Linked DNA regions of Homo sapiens: all the other regions are linked to region 1. Evidence: promoter capture Hi-C in 16 types of primary human blood cells and fetal thymus (Javierre and others, 2016). All regions are on one chromosome and are shown on one strand. The core of a region is centred on a gene start or on the middle of the fragment in contact, and the rest is flanking DNA. Distances in the headings are between cores, read along the strand shown.

What was found. Contacts are between HindIII fragments. The CHiCAGO score rates a contact against its expected background, and 5 or more counts as called.
Region 2: a contact is called between a fragment that was not itself captured here and the fragment with the promoter of ATG9B in region 1, in 3 of 17 cell types (non-activated CD4 T cells, naive CD8 T cells and naive CD4 T cells). The highest score is 5.7, in non-activated CD4 T cells.
Region 3: a fragment that was not itself captured here is called in contact with the fragment with the promoter of ATG9B in region 1 in 1 of 17 cell types (non-activated CD4 T cells); the score reaches 7.0 in non-activated CD4 T cells.
Region 4: a contact is called between a fragment that was not itself captured here and the fragment with the promoter of ATG9B in region 1, in 3 of 17 cell types (naive B cells, monocytes and total B cells). The highest score is 7.4, in naive B cells.
Region 5: a contact is called between the fragment with the promoter of ZNF775 here and the fragment with the promoter of ATG9B in region 1, in 1 of 17 cell types (neutrophils). The highest score is 6.9, in neutrophils.
Region 6: a fragment that was not itself captured here is called in contact with the fragment with the promoter of ATG9B in region 1 in 2 of 17 cell types (non-activated CD4 T cells and total B cells); the score reaches 6.8 in non-activated CD4 T cells.
Region 7: a contact is called between a fragment that was not itself captured here and the fragment with the promoter of ATG9B in region 1, in 3 of 17 cell types (naive B cells, total CD4 T cells and total B cells). The highest score is 6.2, in naive B cells.

What each region holds. Positions count from the first base shown.
Region 1 is chr7:151,022,888-151,025,907 of GRCh38, forward strand. ATG9B (autophagy related 9B) reads right to left here and starts at 1,607. Exons shown (of 14, transcript NM_001317056.2): 1 at 987-1,607; 2 at 800-843; 3 at 558-622; 4 at 158-319. The coding sequence starts at 1,536. LOC124901777 (a long non-coding RNA gene) reads right to left here. Exons shown (of 3, transcript XR_007060593.1): 3 at 2,108-2,146. RefSeq lists an enhancer at 2,518-3,020. The HindIII fragment of the contact is 8,592 bases long and covers 50-3,020 here.
Region 2 is chr7:150,322,751-150,325,770 of GRCh38, forward strand. It overlaps ACTR3C (actin related protein 3C), which reads right to left and starts at 795. Exons shown (of 8, transcript NM_001164458.2): 1 at 719-795. LRRC61 (leucine rich repeat containing 61) reads left to right here and starts at 605. Exons shown (of 3, transcript NM_001142928.2): 1 at 605-810. RefSeq lists enhancers at 1-44, 1,365-1,434 and a silencer at 655-974. The HindIII fragment of the contact is 811 bases long and covers 1,163-1,973 here.
Region 3 is chr7:150,342,059-150,345,078 of GRCh38, forward strand. It overlaps LOC107986858 (a long non-coding RNA gene), which reads left to right. Exons shown (of 3, transcript XR_001745420.3): 1 at 1-279; 2 at 1,470-1,583. Among named protein-coding and RNA genes, the nearest start is that of RARRES2, 1.9 kb to the left of the region's middle. The HindIII fragment of the contact is 764 bases long and covers 1,239-2,002 here.
Region 4 is chr7:150,361,124-150,364,143 of GRCh38, forward strand. It overlaps REPIN1-AS1 (REPIN1 antisense RNA 1), which reads right to left. Exons shown (of 4, transcript NR_183429.1): 4 at 1,535-3,020. Among named protein-coding and RNA genes, the nearest start is that of REPIN1, 6.2 kb to the right of the region's middle. RefSeq lists a silencer at 3,008-3,020. The HindIII fragment of the contact is 2,705 bases long and covers 176-2,880 here.
Region 5 is chr7:150,377,882-150,380,901 of GRCh38, forward strand. It overlaps ZNF775 (zinc finger protein 775), which reads left to right and starts at 1,449. Exons shown (of 3, transcript NM_173680.4): 1 at 1,449-1,511. ZNF775-AS1 (ZNF775 antisense RNA 1) reads right to left here. Exons shown (of 2, transcript NR_183445.1): 2 at 1,964-2,307. RefSeq lists enhancers at 438-597, 2,608-2,667 and a silencer at 1,008-1,817. The HindIII fragment of the contact is 8,122 bases long and covers 1-3,020 here.
Region 6 is chr7:150,406,845-150,409,864 of GRCh38, forward strand. It overlaps LOC728743 (zinc finger domain-containing protein LOC728743), which reads left to right. Exons shown (of 3, transcript NM_001395976.1): 2 at 740-1,644. The coding sequence starts at 768. The coding sequence ends at 1,379. Among named protein-coding and RNA genes, the nearest start is that of ZNF775-AS1, 24 kb to the left of the region's middle. RefSeq lists an enhancer at 105-154. The HindIII fragment of the contact is 2,546 bases long and covers 127-2,672 here.
Region 7 is chr7:150,427,906-150,430,925 of GRCh38, forward strand. No RefSeq gene overlaps it. Among named protein-coding and RNA genes, the nearest start is that of LINC00996, 4.2 kb to the right of the region's middle. RefSeq lists an enhancer at 921-1,090. The HindIII fragment of the contact is 4,508 bases long and covers 1-3,020 here.

The DNA of each region.
Region 1 (3,020 bases), core at 357-2,856:
TAAGTACAACTTAAAGTATATTAAGTGTATTTTTGGTCCTAAGACCAAAAGCTTTGAGAACTGCTGATCTAGATGACGGGACAAAGTGGGGCTCCCGTCTACTCCTCTACCCACTGCCCATGCTTCACCCCCAGGGCCCCACCAGGTTGTCACTAACCTCTCAGCACACTGGGCTGAGGGTAGGATGGCATCTGACAGGGTCACTTTGCTGTGGAACGGCCCAGGTCTGGTATGGTTACTTGGTTGGTTGGCAAAGAGAACATTGTAATCCACGCATCGAAGGAGGAAGGTTGTGAAGGTGACAATGAAAATAAATTGTCTGCCGGGAGGAAGGGGGGGTGCCGGGATGCTGCAGTGATCAGGGACAGCCAGGTGGGCTCCTGCCCCAGCCCCCAGAGCAGCCCATGGTTATCCTCCCTGACCCTGCCCCTGCTGAGCCCTTGGGCTGCTCGGGAAAGCATGGGATGGAAGCAGCTGGCACAATTAAGGAAGCAAAATGACAGAAGGAAGCCATGGGCCCAGGGGACCGAGTTCCGGGCCCGGGCTAAGCGTCTCACCCCAGCTGGAAGACATCCTCCAGCAAGATGCAGGCAAAGCCATTCCGCTGGTGGTAGCTGTAGATGTGGCTGCGTGTCAAGGAACAAGCCTGAGGCACGGGGGGCCTCTCCTGAGGACACCTCCCCTCAGCCCCAACAAGTCTCCCACCCATGACGCCCTCACGGAGTCTCCCTGCCAAGAACAGTGCCAGCTCCAAGAGGACCTTCCCATGCCACCTCTGCAGGCCTAGCGCAAAGGATATCTTGGTGAAGAAACTGTCCAGGTTCTGGATGTGATGCCAGGAGCCTGGGCACAGAGGGGAGAGTGTCAGCCCCTGGCATGTGATCAATTCTCCACGTTCTCAACCCGCTGCCAGAGGCCCAGCCTGGGATAAGTACTGGAGCTCCCAGGCACCACTAACCCTCTCCCACCCACACCCACACACATACCTCGGAGCCCTTCAGGGACATGAAGCAGGGGTTGCTGCTCCTCCCCGTGGATGGGTGAGTCTTGGGACCCCTCAGGGTCACAGTCCTCCAGCCGCTCATAATCCTGTTCAGGGATCAAAGGGCCTACCCGCAGCCCAGGAGAGTCCTGGGGGCACTGCTGTGAGGGAGTGGGGGTTGCCGGGGCCAGGGGTGGGGTGGAGTGGGATCCCCAGGAGGGAGATGCAGAGGCAGGTGTCATTGCAGGTTGAGCCTGTGTTGGGGGGGTGGCTGGGATAGGGAGAGCACTGTGGCAAGACTGAGAAGCCCCTGTCCCCTGTAGCACTGAGCAAGGGGGCCCTGCGGTGGGAGGGGAAAATGAGGAGGGGGAGCTTCTTGTATGAGGGGCAGGGGACAGAGAGAAGATGGAGATCCTCCCTCCCCCAGGTCCCCGGCATGAAGGAGGAGGAGGAGGTGGCAGTGGCATGGGGAGGAGGGGCACCGATCCGGGCCCCAGATCTCCCCACCGCCCCAGCCGCCTTCTTCTCCCCCCCCAGCCCATTCGGCTCACCATCAGGCCACGGCTTCTCCAGAAAGGTTGGAAGGATGGGAGCTGTTGTTGCTTCCACAAAGGTCTGTGACACTGAGCTGGGACTTCAACAGGAACAATGACAACAACATTACTAGGTGACTCAGCCTAGGCAGGCCTCAGGCGTCCCAGCTCTCAGTCACCTGTCTGATCACTCACACCCCTTCCAGGGCAACCTGAGGCCAAATCCCTCAGGGCCTGAGAGGGGCATCAGTTTAAGAGGAGGGGCCAAAGAGCACATTGAGATGAGAAGATTCCTATTATCTCCATCTTCAGACCTTGAATGAATGAAAGATAAAAAGAACAGCAGCCAAAATGACAAAAGCAAAAAGCAAAATCGTGTTAGAGCCAGGTGTGGTGATGTGTGCTTGTGTTCCTAGCTACTCAAGAGACTGAGGTGGGAGGATGGCTTGGTGCAGGTTACACTGGAACAGTATAGGTTACAGTGAGCTAGATCCTGCCCCCTGCCACCCCCCCCAAAAACATCCTATTAAAGGATTGTAGCAGGGCGCAGTACCTCACACTTGTAATCAATCTCAGCACTTTGGGAAGCCGAGGAAAGAGGATTGCTTGAGGCCAGGAGTTCAAGACCAGCCTGGGGAACAGAATGAGAAGACTCCATCTCTACAACAAATCTTAGGACCAAGATGTTAACTATTTCATTTCTTAAGAGTGTACCTCCCCCACTTCCCTCCACACACACACTACAGTGATCAACAGAGAAATGTTTTGTGACCAAAACAGAAAAGAAGAAGTAAAGGGGCCAGGCATGTTGGCTTACACCCGTAATCCCAGGACTTTGGGAGGCCCGGGCGAGAGGATCACTTGAGGCCAGGAGTTCGAGACCAGCCTGAGCAACTTAGGGAAACACCATCTCTACAAAATCTAAAAAACAAACAAAATAATTTTTTTTCTTTTTGAGGCAGTCTCACTCTGTCACCCAGACTGGAGTATAGTGGCACAATCTCGGCTCACTGCAACCTCCGCCTCCCAAGTTCAAGTGATTCTTCTGCTTCAGCCTCCTGAGTAGCTGAGACTACAGGTGTGTGCCACCACACCCAGCTAATTTTTTGTATTTTTAGTAGAGATGGGGTTTCACCATGTTGGCCAGGCTGGTCTTGAACTCCTGACCTCGTGATCCACCCGCCTTGGCCTCCCAAAGTGCTGGCATTACAGGCGTGAGCCACTGCGCCTGGTCAAAAATAAATTTTTTAAAAAGAATAAGAAAAGGTTGCATGTTTTATTGGTCTGAGGTGCTAAGGAAGAGAAGAGGGGAGGCTGACTTTGCAGCCAAGTTGGGGAAAACTAAGAAGAGGAGGTGAAGAAAGGAAAGGCAGCTATCTTGGATTTGAGAGTTGGTTTGGAGAACTTAGAGTAGAAAATTGGGGTTCTCTGAAAGTTCCATTCCGTTTGCATCCTTATCATTTTCAACTGTGACATTCTCTCAAGTCCGGATCCCACTTCTGGGA
Region 2 (3,020 bases), core at 318-2,817, 700 kb before region 1:
GGGCTTGCCCTGAATTCTTTCTTGCATGAGATCCAAGAACCCTCTCTTAGGGCCTGGATCGGGACCCCTTTCTGATAACACCAGGAGACACCCTGGGTGGATTTCCTGAACCGACCGATAGATGAGCCTTCCACGCGGGAGACCTGGATCCTTATCGTCTTTGTGGCCCCTTCCATCTGCACGTGCGGACGAGGTCCGGGTCGCACTCGGGCGGTCAGCCTGGCACGCACAGCGCCGGCGTGCAGGGGGCCTTGGGTGCCACCGAGTCCGGGAGGAAATCTAGGCCGCCATCCGTCCGGAGACTGGCACCTGTGACCACCACCCAACATGTATTGAACAAGGGCTTGGAGGTCCTTTCTCTAAGGCCGCACCGATAAACGATTACCGACTGTTGACCTCACGGCCCCTTCGCTTCCGGCCGCACCGCCTCGCTGCCCACGCCTGCGCACTCAGGCACCGCAGGTAGGAGGAACGTACCAACTGCGAGGCGGGGGGTGCGCGCGAAGACCCCCGCAGGCTGCGCTTCCGGAAGTAACCCCTGGCGCATCCCGGAATCCAGAGCGCCCACTACGGCCTTTGGCCAGGCCCCCTGGGCGCGTTCCGGGAGCTCAGGCCTGCGGCGCTGGGAGAAGCACGCTGGCCAACAAGTTGGGTGGTGGGCACGCGGCCCAGGGGTCAGGGGCCGCCAGGCGGCGGGCGGCGGGGCTGCGGCTCTTACCTGCCGAGGAGGCGCCGGCTCTGCGGTGCGGAGTTGCGCCGGACTTCCCAGCTTGGCCAGTGGCTCCGCAGGCTGCCGGCTCCACCCCTCAGGTAAGCGGGGACTGGGCCGCCGAGGTTCAGGGAAGGGGGCGGCTGTCGGGGCCCGTGCCGGCCCCGGGGGGCCACCTGCTGGGCCAGCGGTGCCCTCGCGCCGAAACACACTGGGAGAGGCCAGAATCTTCCGGAACAGCCAGCCCTTACCCATCTCTCCCTCTGTGCCGAGAACTGCCCTGAAATACTGTGGTATTAATTAACTCGTTTAACACTAACAATCTCATGAGGCGGGTGCTGTTACTATTCCCGTAATGTAGACGAGGAAACCGAGGCGTGTGCTGGAGCAGGATCACGGCCGTGCTCAGAGACGGGCTCTGGATGCCATGCTCTGACTCCATTGTTAGCCCTAAGCTTCCAGAAAGTAGCAGAGTGCTGCCGTGTCGTTTGTAACAGATCTCACTTTGTGTCATTTTTTTTGCACAGTATGAAACCTAATGATGCATGATTATTATTTAAAACATCTTGCTTAGACTTTATAAGTAGTCAAATTTGCGTGTGGGACAAAACCCCAAAACATGCAATGGCTTGCTCTCCTCTTTTCCTTTCACACGTTCATCTCCTCCTATCCCTTTCTCTCACCACCTTTCAATCTTCTCACAGATGTTGTGGAGGAAGATGAGACTTGAGGGCCCAGCAGGTGCTTAAAATCCCCTGCCTGGTGGGGGTGGAGTAGACACTCTGTCCCCCTGCAGTGCTGGAGTTGAGAGCAGAGGGGCTGGAGAGGGACTGGGCGGAGTGAGAAAGGCCTGGCATAATCATGGAATGCCCAGGGTGGGGTTCTACTTCTCTTGCAGGCACAAGAGAAGTAGAAGAGTGGCCGCTTTCCTTCTGGGCACGCACTTGGGAAAAGGCTTGGTGAGAGCAGCGAGAAGAATAGGTCTAATTTCTTGAGCCAGTGTGCGGAGGTGCTTCCCAGCCCAGGCTAAGCCAGATCACTCAGCCAGCCGCTGGCTGCCTTTACAGATGTACGGCTCCCCGTGAGCAATCAACATGCCTGGCTCTCAGGCATAAGCTGCCTCACTTCCCTTCTGCACAGCACTCCAGGACTTGCCTGCTACCAGACCCATCCTACTTTCTCTGTCAGGAAAAATGAGAGTTCTTCCTGGTCTCTTGAGGCCAATCCCTTCCACCGCCTGTGCCCTGGATCCCTTTCTCCAGGAAGCTTCTCTTCCCTGTGTAGTTAGCCTCCCCGCTCTTCCCAGGTCACCTTCTCTCTGTTTAGGGACAGAGCCAAGCCTTTTCCCTCCCATCCCCACCTCCAGCATTCCCGGTTCCTGCTTCTCCCCCACTTCCTGCTGTACCGCCCACTGAAGGGACCTTTGACCCCGCTGACCACTGCTTTTGGAAAGTCTTTTCTTGGTTTCCCTAACTTCACTTTACTTTGGTTTTTCCTTGTCTCTCCCCTCTGCCTCTCAGTCACCTTTGAGATCTGCTCATCCTCTCACCTCCCTGTATTGTCAGCATTACCTGGGCAGCCCCCTCTGGTGTTTTCCTTCAGTTTCTCTAGAAACTTGCCTGAAGATTTGCCCCAAAATAGCCCACATGGACCTGTATGAGGAAAGAGGCTCACTGTGGAGGCGCTCTCCATCATTCCTCCTCTTCCACTTGAGGCTTAGGCATGGGCCACCTCCTGAACAGCTCTCCCCACAGTCTCCTCCATGCATTGTGCCATCACCCCGCCCTGCCGTCACCCCGGCCTGGCCCGCTTTCCCTTTTGCCTCCCAGGGATGTGCCTGCTTCCCATGTGGCCTGGCTAGGGCGCTTTCCTGACTGCTGCCCACATGATCGACTATGGGCAGGCGTGCAGCCCAAAAGGCCGTGCTTCAGCTTAGAAGCCCTTGGAATCTTGTCTTGTTGTGGTTGTAGGCCTCCAATGTGTTGTCAGCTGTGGTGATGTGTGTCACAAGTAACTTCTTTTTTTTGAGACAGGGTCTGGCTCTGTTGCTCAGGCTGGAATGCAGTGGTGCAATCACGGCTCACTGCAATCTCCACTTCCCTGCTCAAGCCATCTTCCTGCCTCAGACTGCCAAGAAGCTGGGACCACAGGCACAGGCCATCACAGCTGGCTGATTTTTTTGTATTTTTTTTGTAAAGACAAGGTTTCGCCATCTTGCCCAAGCTGGTCTCAACCCCCTGAGTTCAAAGCAGTCCACCCACCTTGGCTTCCCAAAGTGCTAGGATTACAGGCGTGAGCCACCACACCTGGC
Region 3 (3,020 bases), core at 371-2,870, 680 kb before region 1:
TTTCTTCCCCTAAATACAGACATTCTCAAACCAAATGAGACCTCGAGGTCCCTACACCTGATCCTGCCTCCCACTCCCTGAGCCACACTGAGAAGGAAGGTCTCTCCTTTAGGGAGGACTCTGGCGCCTGCAACCTTGATCGACAGCAAAGATGTCCAGTGTGTATCCTGCATCTGCCTTTCCTGACCATTCCTCGTGCCCCATTCTCCGTGGGATAGATTCTCATGGGGAGTGGGGGAGCCTTCGGGTGTGGCAGAACGGCATGATGGAATTCATAAGGTGAGCAGAAACTCAAGGAAAACTGTCCAAATACCGGCTCGACTCCTGGGTACGCTGGAGCAAGGATGAAGAAGCTCTGAGACTTTGCACGTCAGTAACCACCAACACCATGCCTCTGGTTCCCACACCGCAGGGATCACCTGAAGTAGAGGATCTCATGTAACTTCATGGCTCTCTCTGAACTTCTGTTTCTTTATCTGTAAGATGGGGATCAGAAACTCTGTCTTAAGGAGTTGTTTTGAGGATTAAATGAAGAAACATGAAAAGCAACTGATGTCCAGTGCCGAGCACAAGGCTTTTGTCCCCTACTTACGCACCCCTAACCAGGATTCTCCACTTAGAGCTGAGAATTTCCTTTACAGTGTGCTCTGGGGGCACCAGAAAGAAACTCGGCTTCCATTAACCACTTCCAGGTGTCTGAAATCCCACCACTACTTAGGGTACTTCACTCCCCAGCTGTGAGCTACTCAGCCGCCCTTAAGCAGAAAGAGATGGGATCCGTGTTCCCTGAAAGCTTTAGATGGGGTTAGAGAGAAAAGATGCACCCAAAGATGTTTCCCAGCCCAAGAACTTGAAGGAAACCAAAATATTTCACCCCAAAAAATACTTCTTTGACACATTTCAAGGTGGCTGTTCAGAATGGTTGGAAATAGAATAACCAAAAAGCTGTCTTTTTGTGGAGAGATTTGCATCTGTAGAGGAAATCTGCATTGATGTAGCCAGGCTTTCTCCGAGGCTCTCCCTTGTCTAACTCTAGGAAAGATTAACTGAGAGGCTGACACCTTTACAGATCTGAAAGAAACATTTACCCTCAGTTCTTTCTGAGGGCTGCTACCTGTGAGGTGTCATCTACCTAACAAGACTCCCTTTGCCAACCAGGCCTCCTCTTCCCTCCCTTCCATAACCTGTCTTGCCACTATCTGAGCCCCCATATTTGTATAAACTCAAGATGGTGGATAAGCTTCTGTATCCCACTGAGGGGTTGGGGTAATCACTTTGTGGTTCTCTCTCATGTATGTTAATAAATATTTCCTGTTAAAGCCGAGGCAGGAGGATTGCTTGAGCCCAGGAGTTCAAAGGTGCAGTGAGCTCTGATCATGAAACTGTACTTCAGCCTCTCTGGACAGAGCAAGACCTTGTCTCTAAAATATAAATGAATCAATTTATTCTATTAATCTGCCTTTCATCAGTTGATTTTTCAGCAAACCTTCAGAAGGCAAAGGGGAAGTTTTCCTTTGGCCCCCACAGACCCATGCTGGGGGACGTCCTGAGGATGGGTGAGGAGAGAAATCTTCCAGGACAAGGTAGGACTTGAGCTGAGCAAAGCGGGAAACTCATCCTGACTTTGGTGGGGGCTGGGGGGAAAGTTGCATCAGGTCTGTTGCAGGGGAGGTGAGGCAGTTGAGGTGGGGAGGTAGGTTGGGAGCAGGGTGGTGGGAGTTGGTGAGGAAGGAGCCAGTCTGGCTATACTTAAATGGCCACACAAAATTCACTTTGGGTGTAGGTATGTGAGGTGCACCCCAAAGAGGTGGACAGTCCTACTGCAGAGCACTCATAGGTGTGGATGTGTGAAAGGACTACTTAGGGCATATTCATGAGCTCAGCTCCAGGTAACATGTCCCAGTCCAGGGGAGCAACAACAGGACTTCACTATTTAATGATGGTTAATGATCTTCCTGGTCATGACAGCTAAAAAAGTAGACTCACGTATCCAGTTGTTCCAAGCTTAGTTTTCCAATAACTGAACTGAGTACCAAAAAACATTGTCCTTTAATATTTGCAACCACATTGACAAAAATAGTTTTTTTTAGAAGAAGTGATTTGACTTTGAAGTAAGAGCATATCAGTTGCAAAACTACACCTATTGAAGTTAAGTACATTTTCCAACTTGTGTCAATTCGGTACCATTAGCATAAATTCAAAAATGATATTGCATAAATTCAAAAGCCATTCTAAATTTATCAATATCAACTAAGAATTCTTCACATTTTTCTTGAAATTTTGCCAATTTACACAATGCTGTATATTACAATTAAAACCTCTGTATGTTGATTCTTGTGACAAAAGTATGTAGATTGTAATTATTTGTCAGTATTATGAAAATATTTAATTTGAAATGCTTATATTTATCTGGCTAGGTCACAAATGAGGTTTCATCTCCTTGGATATTCAAATTTAGCCCATTTATATGTAGTGTGGTATTGGTGAGAAAACACTGACTTTTTTATTTTTAATTATTGAATATTTGGGTTGAGAGTAGTGACTCATGCCTGTAATCCTAGCACTTTGGGAGTCCAAGGTGGGTGGATCACTGAACCCAGGAGTTCAAGACCAGCCTGGGCAATATAGAGAGAGGCTATCTTTACAAAAAAAAAAAAGTTTAATTAGCTGAGTGTGGTGGCAAAAGTCTGTAGTCCTGGCTACTCAGGAGGCTGGCGGGGGACGATCACTTGAGCCTGGGAAGTCAAGGTTGCAGTGAGCTATGATCATGCCACTACATGACCCTCCCACCTCAGCCTCCCAAAGTGTTGGGATTATAGGCTCAAGCCACCACTCTCAGACTTGGCCACAGAGCAAAACCTTGTCCCCAAAACAAATAATAATAATACTTATTGTTGTATATTTGGTAATCATGGCTTCTGTCTCAAGAAAATCTTGGAGTTAGTTAAAAGTACAGTAAATCTTAGGAGAACTCTTCTACAACCCTGACAATGAGCTTTGGTAAAGAAAAGATCATTAAA
Region 4 (3,020 bases), core at 278-2,777, 660 kb before region 1:
GCAGAAGAACCACTTGAACCCAGGAGTTTGAGGCTGCAGTGAGCATCACTGTACTCCCGTATGGGTGACAGAGTAAGACTCTGCCTCTAAAAAATAATAAAAATATAAAATAAAATAAAATAAAATAAAAGATTTGCATATATCTCACATGGGCAGAGGAAAATTCACAATCACAAGCTTTCTAATGCAAATGTGCTGAGAAAAGGGGGTGTTGGTGAGGAGCATCTCTGCCTTTTTTCACCAGGGAGAAAGAAAACTTATTTTTATTCTTTTTGATTTGTATTTGCTTTTACAATTCTCCTGGCTATCTGGGTAATTACATGTGTCTTTGTGTTGGCGGGGGTACAGGGGGAGATTCAGCTGCAGCACAGGCCGGCAAAGTGACAAGTGTAGCAAGATGCTGCGCTGAGGGCTTGGGAGACAGAGGGAGGGGCCTCGAGCCCAAGAATGCCTGGGAAGCAGCTCTTCCAGCCAGAAAAGGCAAGGAAGGATTCTCCCCTAGAGACTTTGGAGGGAGTGGGGCCCTGCCGACACCTTGACTTTGGCCCAGTGAAACATTCTGGGCTTCTGACTTCCAGCCGTGTAAGATAATAAATGCCAGTTATTTCAGGCCGAGCTGGTGGTCATTTGTTAGAGCAGTCCTAGGAATCTCATCTAGGTGTGAAGCTATTTTAGAGGGGTTTGTTGGGAAGCGTGTTTTGAGGCGAGGAGACTTCAGCCAAAATCTGAATACAGTGAAGAACGGAAGTCCATGCGGACCTGGAGGAGGATCGTCTAGGCAACTCCAAAGGCCCTAAGGTGGAAATGAGTGGCGGCTGCTGGGGCAGTGTCTGGCAGGCGCATGGAGGTCTGCAGGAACCCTGCAGGCCATGGCCGCGGGTTGGATGTCAGTCCAAATGTTAGCAGGAGGCGTCGGAGTTCCCTAGCAAGGGAGCTGCTTGATCTGATTCATGTTTAAAGGGCCAAGCTGGTTAAGTGGAGACAGGACTTTATGGGGCCAGAGCGGAGGCAGGAGGAGTGGCTGGCCACTGCTGCAGAGTCCTGGTGAGGGAGACTATGGTGCAGGGGTGGGGGATAAGGGTGGGAAGCAGGCCTCACCGTTATGGGGCACACGCATGTACCAGTTTCCTCTGCAGGAAATCTGAGCCATCTACCTGATACTCATTTTACCAGCTGGATTCTTTTTTCTTTTAGCAAGAGACTCTGGGAACTAGATATGCGGCAGGAAAGCATCTTGTGTGGTGGAATTTGGGGACTGACATTTGATCTCAGCCCAGGGCTACTCTTACAGCGTGCGTCCCTGTCGTGCATTATACATGTTTTCATGCACTTAAAGATATTTTTAGAACTGCAGAAGTAGAAGCACTTTGATCTTTTCCTGAATAATTTTCACATGACTTAGCAGGCCTCCTTCCACCTGAGATGGGAAACCTTGGAAAGTGAGGGGGCCTTCTTCAGTGTGTGCCACTGTAGGGGTTTTTCCTCAGCCCCCCTAGATTTGTGGTTGGAACGGACTCCTGTTACAAAAGACAGATTAACAAGAGAAAAACCAGTGGAAGTTTATTAACATGTGTATTTCACATCTGCCTGGGAGACACGCAGGAATTGAGTAGTTCTCAAAGTGGTAGCTTTGAATTCCAGCTTGTATAGCATCTTCAACAAAGAAAAGCCAAGTTTTAGGGAAGCGACAGGACAAAGGAAAAGAACTTTGAGTGTCTAAGGGGAGAACTTGTAGAAAGGTAAGTAACTGGCAGATAAATAGAGTTAGTAAAGCGCCTTCATGTCCATTCCTCTGGTTCCAGCTCCAGGCCCATAAGAGTCTAAAGTTGTCTTCAGTGGTTAACTTTTCCCTGGTCGAGAGAGGGAGCAGACCCCTTTTATCCTTCTAAATCTATATCCTGCATTTAGGCAGTGGAGGGCAGAGAGCTTTCTTCCATTTACTTTTTCACTGCCTTCAAGCTCAACAACCCTTCATCTTTCGGGGCCTCCCCAACTGCGTTCTCTTGGTGCTCTCCAGCTGGGAAGGCTCAAAGGATGGGAAGTGTGTACAGCACGTACCTGTGACTGCTACCAGAGATTTGCCCCTCCTCAGGGTCAGTGAGGGATGTGCTTTCTGCTTCCTCCCCAGACTGCAAACCCCTGGAAATTAGCTGCGTGAGAGTCTTGCATATTTGCCGTAGGGATGCGGCAGGAGGTAACGGAGATGATAGTCAAGGGAAGGTTCATTAGAGCAAATTGATCCTCAGTCTCCTCCAGCTTTCCACAGTCATCCATCCAGAAATTATCAACAAGCGCTTGTTTTTATTTTGTAGTAGGTACCAAACCAAGAGTTATTTCCGTAGTTAAATAAGCGTTAAAAGTCTTCTCAGCACCCTCTCACATTGTGGGAAAACTGCACAGACCACCTCTGCCTGACTCATGATGAGGCCGGGCACCTGGCACAGTGGCAGATGGTGGGCACTGATTAAATATTTGTTGGATGTATGAGCAAGTCCTGTGGGGGGAGCTGGAACTGTATGTCTGCAAGAAGTGGGTGCAGTTTTCCCTCTTCCAGATACAGGGCCACTTCTGAACAATACTTGGGTGTCTTCACAGAGGATTTCTGGAGACACTGTTCCTGTCACCCCCTGGCATGCCAGCCCACTTTGCATCTAATCTGATAATGGGAGCCAGGCACTGTTGGAGGGGAAAATTGATCCTCCCAGGGGCCCTATCAATATTCGCTGTCCAGTGGGCCCCTTCCTGTCCAGCCCTTTCTCCGGCTAGCTTGTCAAAAGCTGAGACCGTCTCCACTGGGCTAGGCCATTGGGCCATTTGGCTGGTTGCTGGGCCATCCTCCAAGACATTTTGAAGGGTGAAGTCTCAAATACCAAGGCCTTAAGCTTCCAGCTGGCATAAAGGCTCAGGAATCCCTTCGCAACTCCTTTGCCACTCATTTTCTTTCTGCAGAGTGAAGGCACAGTCATACTTAGTTTCCTCTGGCGATGCTAAAGAGGAAGTTACAGCAGGTGGTTAACTCC
Region 5 (3,020 bases), core at 199-2,698, 650 kb before region 1:
AAATAAACAGGAGAATGAGACTCCAAAGTGTTGATAGCTAGTGATGTGTGGCCTCTTTATAGGGTGTGTATGATTTTGTATTTTACAAATCCTTCTATAGATAATATAACCAAATTAACGGTAAAAACTCAGTAAGGTATGCAGGCAACTAGAAAATTATTAACCCTATTTTATAGACGAATAAGTCAAAGTCCAGAAACAGAAAAGTATCTTTTATAAAAAGTACACATGAAGTTAGTGACAAAATCGAATCTCAGTCCCCAGTTCCTGCTGTGCTACTGAGGCTAAACCGCAGCCGGGCCTGTGGCAAATGTTTAATCAGCTGTTGACTGAAGAAAATAAGGTCCGCCTGCCCAACAGCAACCGTTTGTAGAGTCTCAGAGGCCCAGCTTCTGTCTGTATCTACCTCATGCCCCAGAGGCAGCTTCTAGCAGCTCCGGAGAGCATCCTGCCAGTGGGAGTTGACCCAGCTGCGCCCCCTTTGAGGGAGAAGTGTGAGGAATTTCCTTACAATGGGGTGGGGAGTTGCGAAGATACTCCTTCCTGAAGGTCTGGCAGTCTGGACCGGGGTGGCAACTGGGCGGAGATGATTCCGCTCACGGGAACCCTACCTAGTAACCCGACCTAGTAACGTAACCTCAGAGCCGTTCCTCAGCTAGAAAACAAAGGGATTAGGCCGGGCGCGGGTTTGTAATCCCAGCACTTTGGGAGGCCGAGGCCGCAGGGTCACTTAAGCTCAAGAGTTCGAGACCAGCCTGGGCAACATGGCGAGACCCCCATCTCTACAAAATATTTAAAAAGTTAGCAGGTTGGGAGGTTCGGTTGAGCCACGGGTTCGAGGTTGCACTGAGCCATGATCGCGCCACTGGGGTCTGAGCGAGACCACCTCCCTGAAACAGAAAACGAAGGGGTCGGGTATAATGATTTCTAAGGTCCCTCGTAGTGAACCCTAAAAGTTATCACACCCCACGGTGGGGCTATCGCGGCTTGAGGGCAGCCACAGCCTCAGCCGGGGTTTCTGTCCGGGCCCTGATGGGTCCCCAGCAGGGAGAAACAGCGTCCGGCGCGCTGTGGCGCTCGGCGAACGTGCGCTGAGTTCAGGCGTTACAACGGGGTCGCACGCGGAGTCCAGGCCTGGCAGGGGTGCCAGGACGCCGCCGGCCATCTGGGGCCCGACCTCCCAAGGTCTCCTCCCCGCGGCCGGCGGCTAGCGCGCTCACGGCGCCCGGGCCTTGCGCGCCCGCCGGGGGCGAGGTCAGCCCTCCCCCCTCGGCTATTGGCTCCAGAGAACAAAGGAGCCGCCCCGCGGGCTGCTCCGATAGGGCCGGGCGGGTCATCTGAGCGGCGCAGCCAATGGAGTGGCTGGGCGGCCCCGGGGATGGCCAGGCCCGCCAGCCAATCAGGCACCCGTGCCCGCCCCGCCTGCCCCGGGAATGGCCAGGGCCGGGAGCCCGGTGCCCAAGTCGCCCTCGGGGTGGCAGTTCCCGTTAACCTTAGCCACAAAGTCAAAGGTATTTATTTCCCCGTCGCCTCCCTCCGAGTCCCTCTGCATTTTGGGCGGGGAGGGGCGGTGCGAGGGATGGACCAGCGCCCGGCCCCGCTCCTCCCGTGCTGCCTCCGCCCGGCCCGGGCTGGGGCGGAGGGATGGGGCGGGGGCCTGGGGTGCCCCGAGCCCCGCGCGCCCCCCGAGCCCCGGGTCTCAAGCGTTCCCTCTGCCCCGACACAGCCGAGGGGAAAGGGGCGCGGCCGAGGGTGGGGAGGGCGCCAGGCCAGGGCAGCGAGGTTAGGAGGGAGGCTAGTGAGAATGGAGGGAGGACGCGGTGGCGAGTAGAGGGGTCGCCCGCGGGCGGTCTCTCCTGGGCTGTCCCGTTGTTCCGAGTTCCCCGTCCCTGTTCGCCTCCCTGATAGATCAGTTTCTGGGGGCAGGAACCCCAATGCTCGCTGCAGAGTGACAGACACATAGTAGGTGACCAATAAATGTGTGATTAAACGAGCGGGGATAAGGATTGGGGGTGGAGATAAGTGAGAGGGAAGCACCGCAGAAGTTGGAAGTGTGTGGTGTCGGGTGTGGCGGAGAACTCCTCTCTAGGAAGATGGGCACAGCAGCCGCGAACTCGGTGGGGCGGGGTGCGGGCATCCCCTCTGTGAAGAACGTTGAGGATATCTACATGTGGAAGGTGTGGAGATGGGTCCTCCTTCGGCCCTTTGAGCAAGATGATCTGAGCTGGGGCTGGGTGTGGTCAGAGCCCCAGGGGTTGGAGGCGGACGACAGCCCAAGGCTTCACAGCTAACTGTTCCCATGTTCATCTGTAAAATGAAGAGATTAGATGGCAGTTGTCTCCTTTCAGCTTGAAGGTTCATGCTTCCGTGCTTCAAATCTGTTTTGTACTGAAATTTCTTTTATTTAAGTGTTCCCTTATGACAGTTTTTATTAATGGATTACTGTGTGTGGAGCCTGTACTGGGTGCAGGGGAGAGAGAAGGACCCTGTGTTAAGATGCATGTAGTCTTGTGCAGACTAACAAATTGATGACAATGATGATTCCATGTAGATGGTCCTAGGTGCACAGGTTAAACAGAGAAGGGATTCCTGGCTGTGCCTGGTGTGTCCAAAAAGGCTTCCTGGTCAAAGCGATCCCTAATCTGGGCTGGGAAGGGGAGAACTGAGCAAGGGCCTTCCAAGGTTGGTCACAGGGTGCGAGGACACGGTGAGTTCAAGAGCCACGAGAGGATGGGGCGTGTCGGGGTGCAATGGGGAAAGATGAGCAGAGTTGAGTTCTCAGTTCCCTCTTATCCGAGGTGTGCGTGCCAGCAAGTCCATTTGGTGGGGGTCTGGGTTTCTGAAAAACAACTCAAGGACATATGCTAAGATGTTACCTTTAGTTTCTTTAGGCAACCACACGTTTCGTGTGGTCTGACTTCCTTGCTATTATTTTAGCTACGATTACCTTCTTATCAGGTTGCACATTTACTTCTCAGGACCAGCTAGGTGCCTGGAATTTCCCTGGAAAGAACTCAAGA
Region 6 (3,020 bases), core at 150-2,649, 620 kb before region 1:
CCTGGTTCAGTGACTTGGAAACCTTTTGAACACATGCCTCATTTTGATAAACAAAGAGCTGCCGCCTTTAATGTTTAACCGAGGTCACTTTCAAGTTTACAGGGTTGTGTTTTTTTTCCTGTTTTAAGCTTCACAAAAATATCTTTAAATCACTGATAATGCCACCCTTTTCTCCAAGTTTGGGGTGCACTTCCCTACCTCCCCCTGTCCTTGAGATCTGGTTGGAGGGATAAGACATATCTAGACGAAGGTAACTGAAAATCCTAGCTGAAACTGAAACTGAAAATCCTAACTGAAACTCATCACCATCTGTCTAGTGTCTTGTGTGGCTGGCTGGCATGGTGCTAGGTGCTGGGGTTGAAAGAAGGCAGCTCTGTCCTTAGGGTGCTGGGAGTCGGGGGACAGAGGTGGCATGACTGACCCTCGTGCAGTATGATCAGTGAGAGCCACATGGTTGTGTCACACGGTGTTTAAGCCCGGGGTGGAAAGGTCAGGGAAGGCTTCTAGGAGAAGGTGCCCTTGGGAAGGGACTGGAAGGAGTGTAGGCCGTGCTTAAAAGGCAGTGGAGGAAGAGGAACACCAATTCCCAGCAGGGGAACTTGAGCTTGAACAAAACGGGGCGAAAGGTGGAGGTTGTGGGAGGTGAGTGTCCCTGCCAGGCTGGGGGTTGGCTAACCCTCGTGTTCCCCGACCCCTCTCTCTCCACCCCCCACCCCCGCCCCCGCTTCTGTCTCCCTAGGGACTGGTGATTGCAGCTGGAAGTGCCCATGACCGAGCTGGCGTCCTCCGGGGGCGGGTCCCCTGCGGGGGACGGGGAGGAGGGTCTGGGGGACGAGCGAGGCCTGGTCATCCACCACCCTGCAGAGGAGCAGCCCTACCGCTGCCCGCTGTGCGGCCAGACCTTCTCGCAGCAGCCCAGCCTGGTGCGGCACCAGAAGGCGCACGCCGGAGCGGGCCGCGCGGCTGCCTTCGTGTGTCCCGAGTGCGGCAAGGCCTTCAGCGTCAAGCACAACCTCGAGGTGCACCAGCGCACGCACACCGGGGAGCGGCCCTTCCCCTGCCCCGAGTGCGGCCGCTGCTTCAGCCTCAAGCAGAACCTGCTCACGCACCAGCGCATCCACAGCGGCGAGAAGCCGCACCAGTGCGCGCAGTGCGGCCGCTGCTTCCGCGAGCCGCGCTTCCTGCTCAACCACCAGCGCACCCACGCGCGCATGCCCGCGCCGCACCCGCGCCGCCCCGGCGTCTTCGGGGAGCGGCGGCCCTACTTCTGCCCCCGCTGCGGCAAGAGCTTCGCGCGCGAGGGCTCGCTCAAGACCCATCAGCGCAGCCACGGCCACGGGCCCGAGGGCCAGGCGGCCCACTTAGGACGCGTGCTATGATGCGCCCGGGGCCTGCTGCCGACGGCTGCTTCCCGCCCCGCACGTGCGTCCCCGACCCCTGGAGATGGCCCTGGGCCGCAGCTCCCTCTCTAGATGGGATCCCGGGAGAGGGGCAGCGCTGGCTTGGGCTCTTGAAGGTGTGGGCCGCCGCCAGGCTCCGGCCGCCCGCTCGCGTTCCTCCCTCGGGACCCTCTGGCTGGCTGCGCACAGCTGCTTCCGGCTCCTGCCATGGTTCTCCTTCTCTGGCCCATCCGGCCTAGAGCAGGTGAGACCTGCGGGGCTGGCCAGAGCCCCTCTCAGGGCTGGGAGTGGTGGGGGTGGAGTGCGTGGTGTTGATTCTTGATGGCAGGTGGGGCGGTCTGGGTACCGGGCTGTAGGTTTCTCTGTGATGAGCTGCTTACCGGATCTTCATCCCCAGAATGTCAGAGTTGAAAGAGACTTGGAGAGGCCACTTTCCACAAACCCCACGCCCAACCTCAGCCCCTAGGCCTCCTGGCTCCTGTACACACTCTCTGCTGTCCTTGAGATGTCATTTCACTTCATGTTTCAGTTTACTCATCTGTAAGTTGGGGATATAGATGAGGGACTCTTCCTCGCTGGGATATATTGCAGCTACTGGATGAGAGAGGGTGAGGTCACTGGTGCACAGAGCCTTAGTTGATTCTGCCACACCATGTGCCACTGACTGTGCCGGGCTGGGCTCTCCCAGAGACACACATGAGGACCGCAGGCCCTGACACGGGGTGCTCACACTCGGTGTGTGACGCGGGGCCAACCTACAAAGTGCTCTGGGGTGAGACCGAGGAGGGTGACTGGTTTCTCTTCGTCACCCAGGGGAGTTTGATGGCTTTGAACCAGGTCATGGGGACAAATAAAATTGTTCTAGGAAGAGCAAGTGTGTAGAAGGGTGTTTTCAAGGGAGGGGGGGTCCTGATAGTTCAGTGACTGTCTCCAGGTGTCCCAAGGGGAGGTTTGCCCTACAAAGGACTTCGTGGTCAGGGGGTGGGGACACTGAGATTTTTAATGAGATGAGTGCTATGATCTCAGACTTATGCTTTAGGAGGAGAATCAGAGGCACTGTGAGGACAGACTGATGTGGGAAGAGCTGGAGCCTCGAGGGGCTTGGGTCATCTGGGCAAGAGAACATAAGGCCCCCAGCTAAGAGGCCTGGCCAAGGTCTGGCAGTGAGAAAGGGGGCAGCCAGGACTCTGCTCCAGGACCTCTGGTTCCAAGCTGGCGCTCTGAGGCACGGGCCTCTTCAGCCTTTTGGCAGATGAGGAAACAGGTTTGCCAAGCTTGCCTACACCACAGTTGGTACTTAGGGGTACAACAGGTGGAAGCCAGGGCTTTGTTTTGGATTCTGAATCCCAGAACCTTTTAGCTTCACTGCTTAAAAAGTGGACGATGGAGCAGGGAGGATTTGGGGCCATGTGATAGGAGCTGGGGCAGGGGTGTTAGGGGTGGTACGGGTGTTTGAAGGGGACATGGCATCCCTGGGAGTGGTTTGGGAGGAAGGGAGCTGGGGCTTCGAGGGGACCTGCACATTCAGTCCTGTGCTGGGTGCTGGAGACTCGTCCCTCCCCACTGCCCCCTCTGCCCATCCTCAGTGCTATGTGGCTATGGCTCCTCGGAGACTGTCCT
Region 7 (3,020 bases), core at 342-2,841, 590 kb before region 1:
CTCTCACCACCTGGCTGCCTATCAGGTGCCCTGACGCTGCAGCTGCACGCTCTTGATGCTTATGGGGCCAATTTTCCATCCTCCATCCACCACAACTTACGTATCCCGCTGTCCCATGTCCCTGTAGGGCTAATGAGAACTTCTCCAGGCCAAGCAGTGGCAAAGTGGTGCCAACAGCTCCATGCGTATTGGGGCTCCCACGTCACGTGAGGGTGCTGAGGGCCTCAAACGCCTTTCACCAGAGGCCTGACTAGTGCGGCAGGTCAGGAAACAAGAAGAGACTTTAGAAGAGGGAGGCCTTGCCTTGTGTTCCTCAGAACCGGGACACTTGGTCCTCACCGGGGTGAGGCTGGGCAGAGTGCACCCTCCAGCCGCCTGTACCTCCACAGCCCTGCAGGCCGAGAGATGCAAGATAAACTGTGGATGGCACCCACTTTGGAGTCAGGAGGCCTGAGACTCTCCCCCAGCTGGTTCCTTCACGACCTTGGGGAAGTCACTTCCTTTCTGGGGGCTACAGTTTCTTCACTGAAGAATGAGGAGGTTAGATGGGAAGTCACTACTTCCAAAGATTTGTTTTTTTTTTAATGAAAGTAAAATCTTATTTTTTCAAAATATCACTAGGAAGACCCATGGATCACCCCAGGAGTGTTCCAGCTACAGCATGGGATGGGTCTCCCTCTCCCCAGCAACCTTGTCTGCTGGGCCCACCCCTTAGGTGTCCGGGGGCCCCCACTAGAACCTGCAGAAAACATTTGGAACCCACTGGACTTGCTTGCAGGTCCCGTAGAGTCCCACCCTCTAGGATTCTCTAAGGAATTCACAGGTACCCCCTCCGACCCCCAACCACACTCTCCACAGACACATGCACAGAAACGTAAGCACTGCCCACAGCTGTGTGCACACACAGGGACTTTCAGAGGCATGATTCAGAAGCCACACTGGGCAAAGTGCCCTCCTGCTGTTTGTGTTCACTCACGCAGCCCTTGGCCGCCTTCTTCCTGTCTTCTTTATTTGCTGCTGTCACTCCCACCTCCTGTGGAGTAGACCAGATGGCCGCATCTGCCCAAGGAAGTGTCTACAGAGGAAATGGCAAAGTGCATTCCAGCCAAGGTAGAAATCACTGGCAGGCAAGCTCTCAGGGCCAAGGCACTGGGGCTTTGGAGTCCTGGCCTGGGTCCCTACCCAAACCCTTGTCCCCTCAGATACATCCCTAGACCCCTTCCTGAGCAACCTGGAAAGAACCCGCAGACCCATTTTCTGCACATTCCTCAGCCCCACAGGGAGAGGAAAATGCTCCACCTCCTCCAGTTGCTGCCCAGGCTGCCGGCTACGAGGGGCTGTGGCTTCCACATTCCCTTCTCCAGTGCAGCCAGGCTTGACCTTTCAGAAAATCCTTGACGATGGGAAGGACTCCCAAGGATGGCATAGAATAGCCAGGCCCAGCCCCTGGACCTGCATAAAGCAATTGTTTGGAGGCAGAGAGTCGGATGCCTGGTGAATGGGGGGCTGGTACTCAATATAGTCAGAGAAGGCAGTGTCCTTACTCAGCTGCTCTCAGAGCGAAGGCACTTGCCCTCTGCAGGCTGCCCCAGAAGCCAAAGGAAAGCAACTGGAAGCTAAAGGGAAGGTTTGGGGACTTTAATAGCTGATATAGTTTGGATATTTGTCCCTGCCCAAATCTCATGTTGAATGAAATGTAATCTGCAGTGTTAGAAGTGCCTGGTGGGAGGTGTTTGGGCCATGGGGGCAGATCTCTCATGAATGGCTTGGGCCATCCTCCTGGTGATGAGTGAGCTCTTGCTCTGAGTTCACATGAGATCTGGTCATTTAAAAGTGTGTGGCACCTTCTACCTCACCAACCCCCCACCTCTCCCTCTTTCTCTCTCTGTCTCATGCTGAAGGAGACATGGAACAGTGAGATTCTCCCTTGGAGCCTCCAGAAGGAACCTGCCCTGTGGACACCTTGATTTTAGCCCTGTAGGTTCATTTCAGACTCTGGACTTCCAGAACGCTAAGAGAGTAAGTCTGTGTTGTTCAAGCCACTTTTTGTGGTGGTTTATTATGCAGCAATGGAGAACAAATACACCCGGCATGTCCTGGGACAAAGCCTGGGGACGGCGGGGGGACTGAGCTGGACGCCCATACCCCAAAGCACGAAGGGAAGAGACCAGCAGCTAACACTCGAAGAGGCCGACTAGTTCTCAAAAGGGAGAAGAGGTATGGCCTGAAAGCCAAGGAGCAAGGGAGATGCTAACTCTAACCGCATTATTTTTTTGGAGACAGGGTCTCCCTTGGTCACCCAGGCTGGAGTGCAGTGGTGCAATCATGGCTCACTGCAGCCTCGACCTCCTGGGCTCAAGCGATCCTCCTGCTTCAGCCTCCAGAGCAGCTGGGACCACAGGTGTGCACCACCACGCCCTGCCCCCTAACCCCATTTTCTGTCCCTGGGGTACATGGGGTGTGAGATAATAAACAGTCCCCACTGGAGAGAGATTATTTAATCCTCATCCTACTCCACAAGACCATTATCGTTACGATCTTCCTTCTATAGATCAGGAACCTGAAGTACTTGGGGGTGGAGGTCACTTGCTCAAGTTCAGGCAGTTAGGAAGGGCAAAGCAGAGGTTTGAACCGTGCCTGCACCTGTGAAGTTTGGAAACCATCATCGCATTCCCCCAGGGGAATAGTCTAGGATCTGAGTTCCAGCTTCTCCATCTGAGGCAGCGGTCCCCAGGCGCTGGCAGCAACGTGCAGCTGCTGGGGTACGAGGCAGCTGCCTGCAGAGACCGTGCCTTCCCCTTGGTGCAGATGCAGTGGGCAGCCTGCACTTTGCTGCTCCTGTGTCCGACTCCTTGGGGTTCTGTTCTGGAGACAGAGCTCAGTGGACTCACAAGACGGTCACTTTCTTCTGTTGAGTCCCTGAGTTTATTTGATGAAATCCAGAACTGAAGTTCCTGGAATAAGTCATCTTACCACCAGTGTTTTGAATTAACGAACTCAAATGTCATCTCCTCCCACAC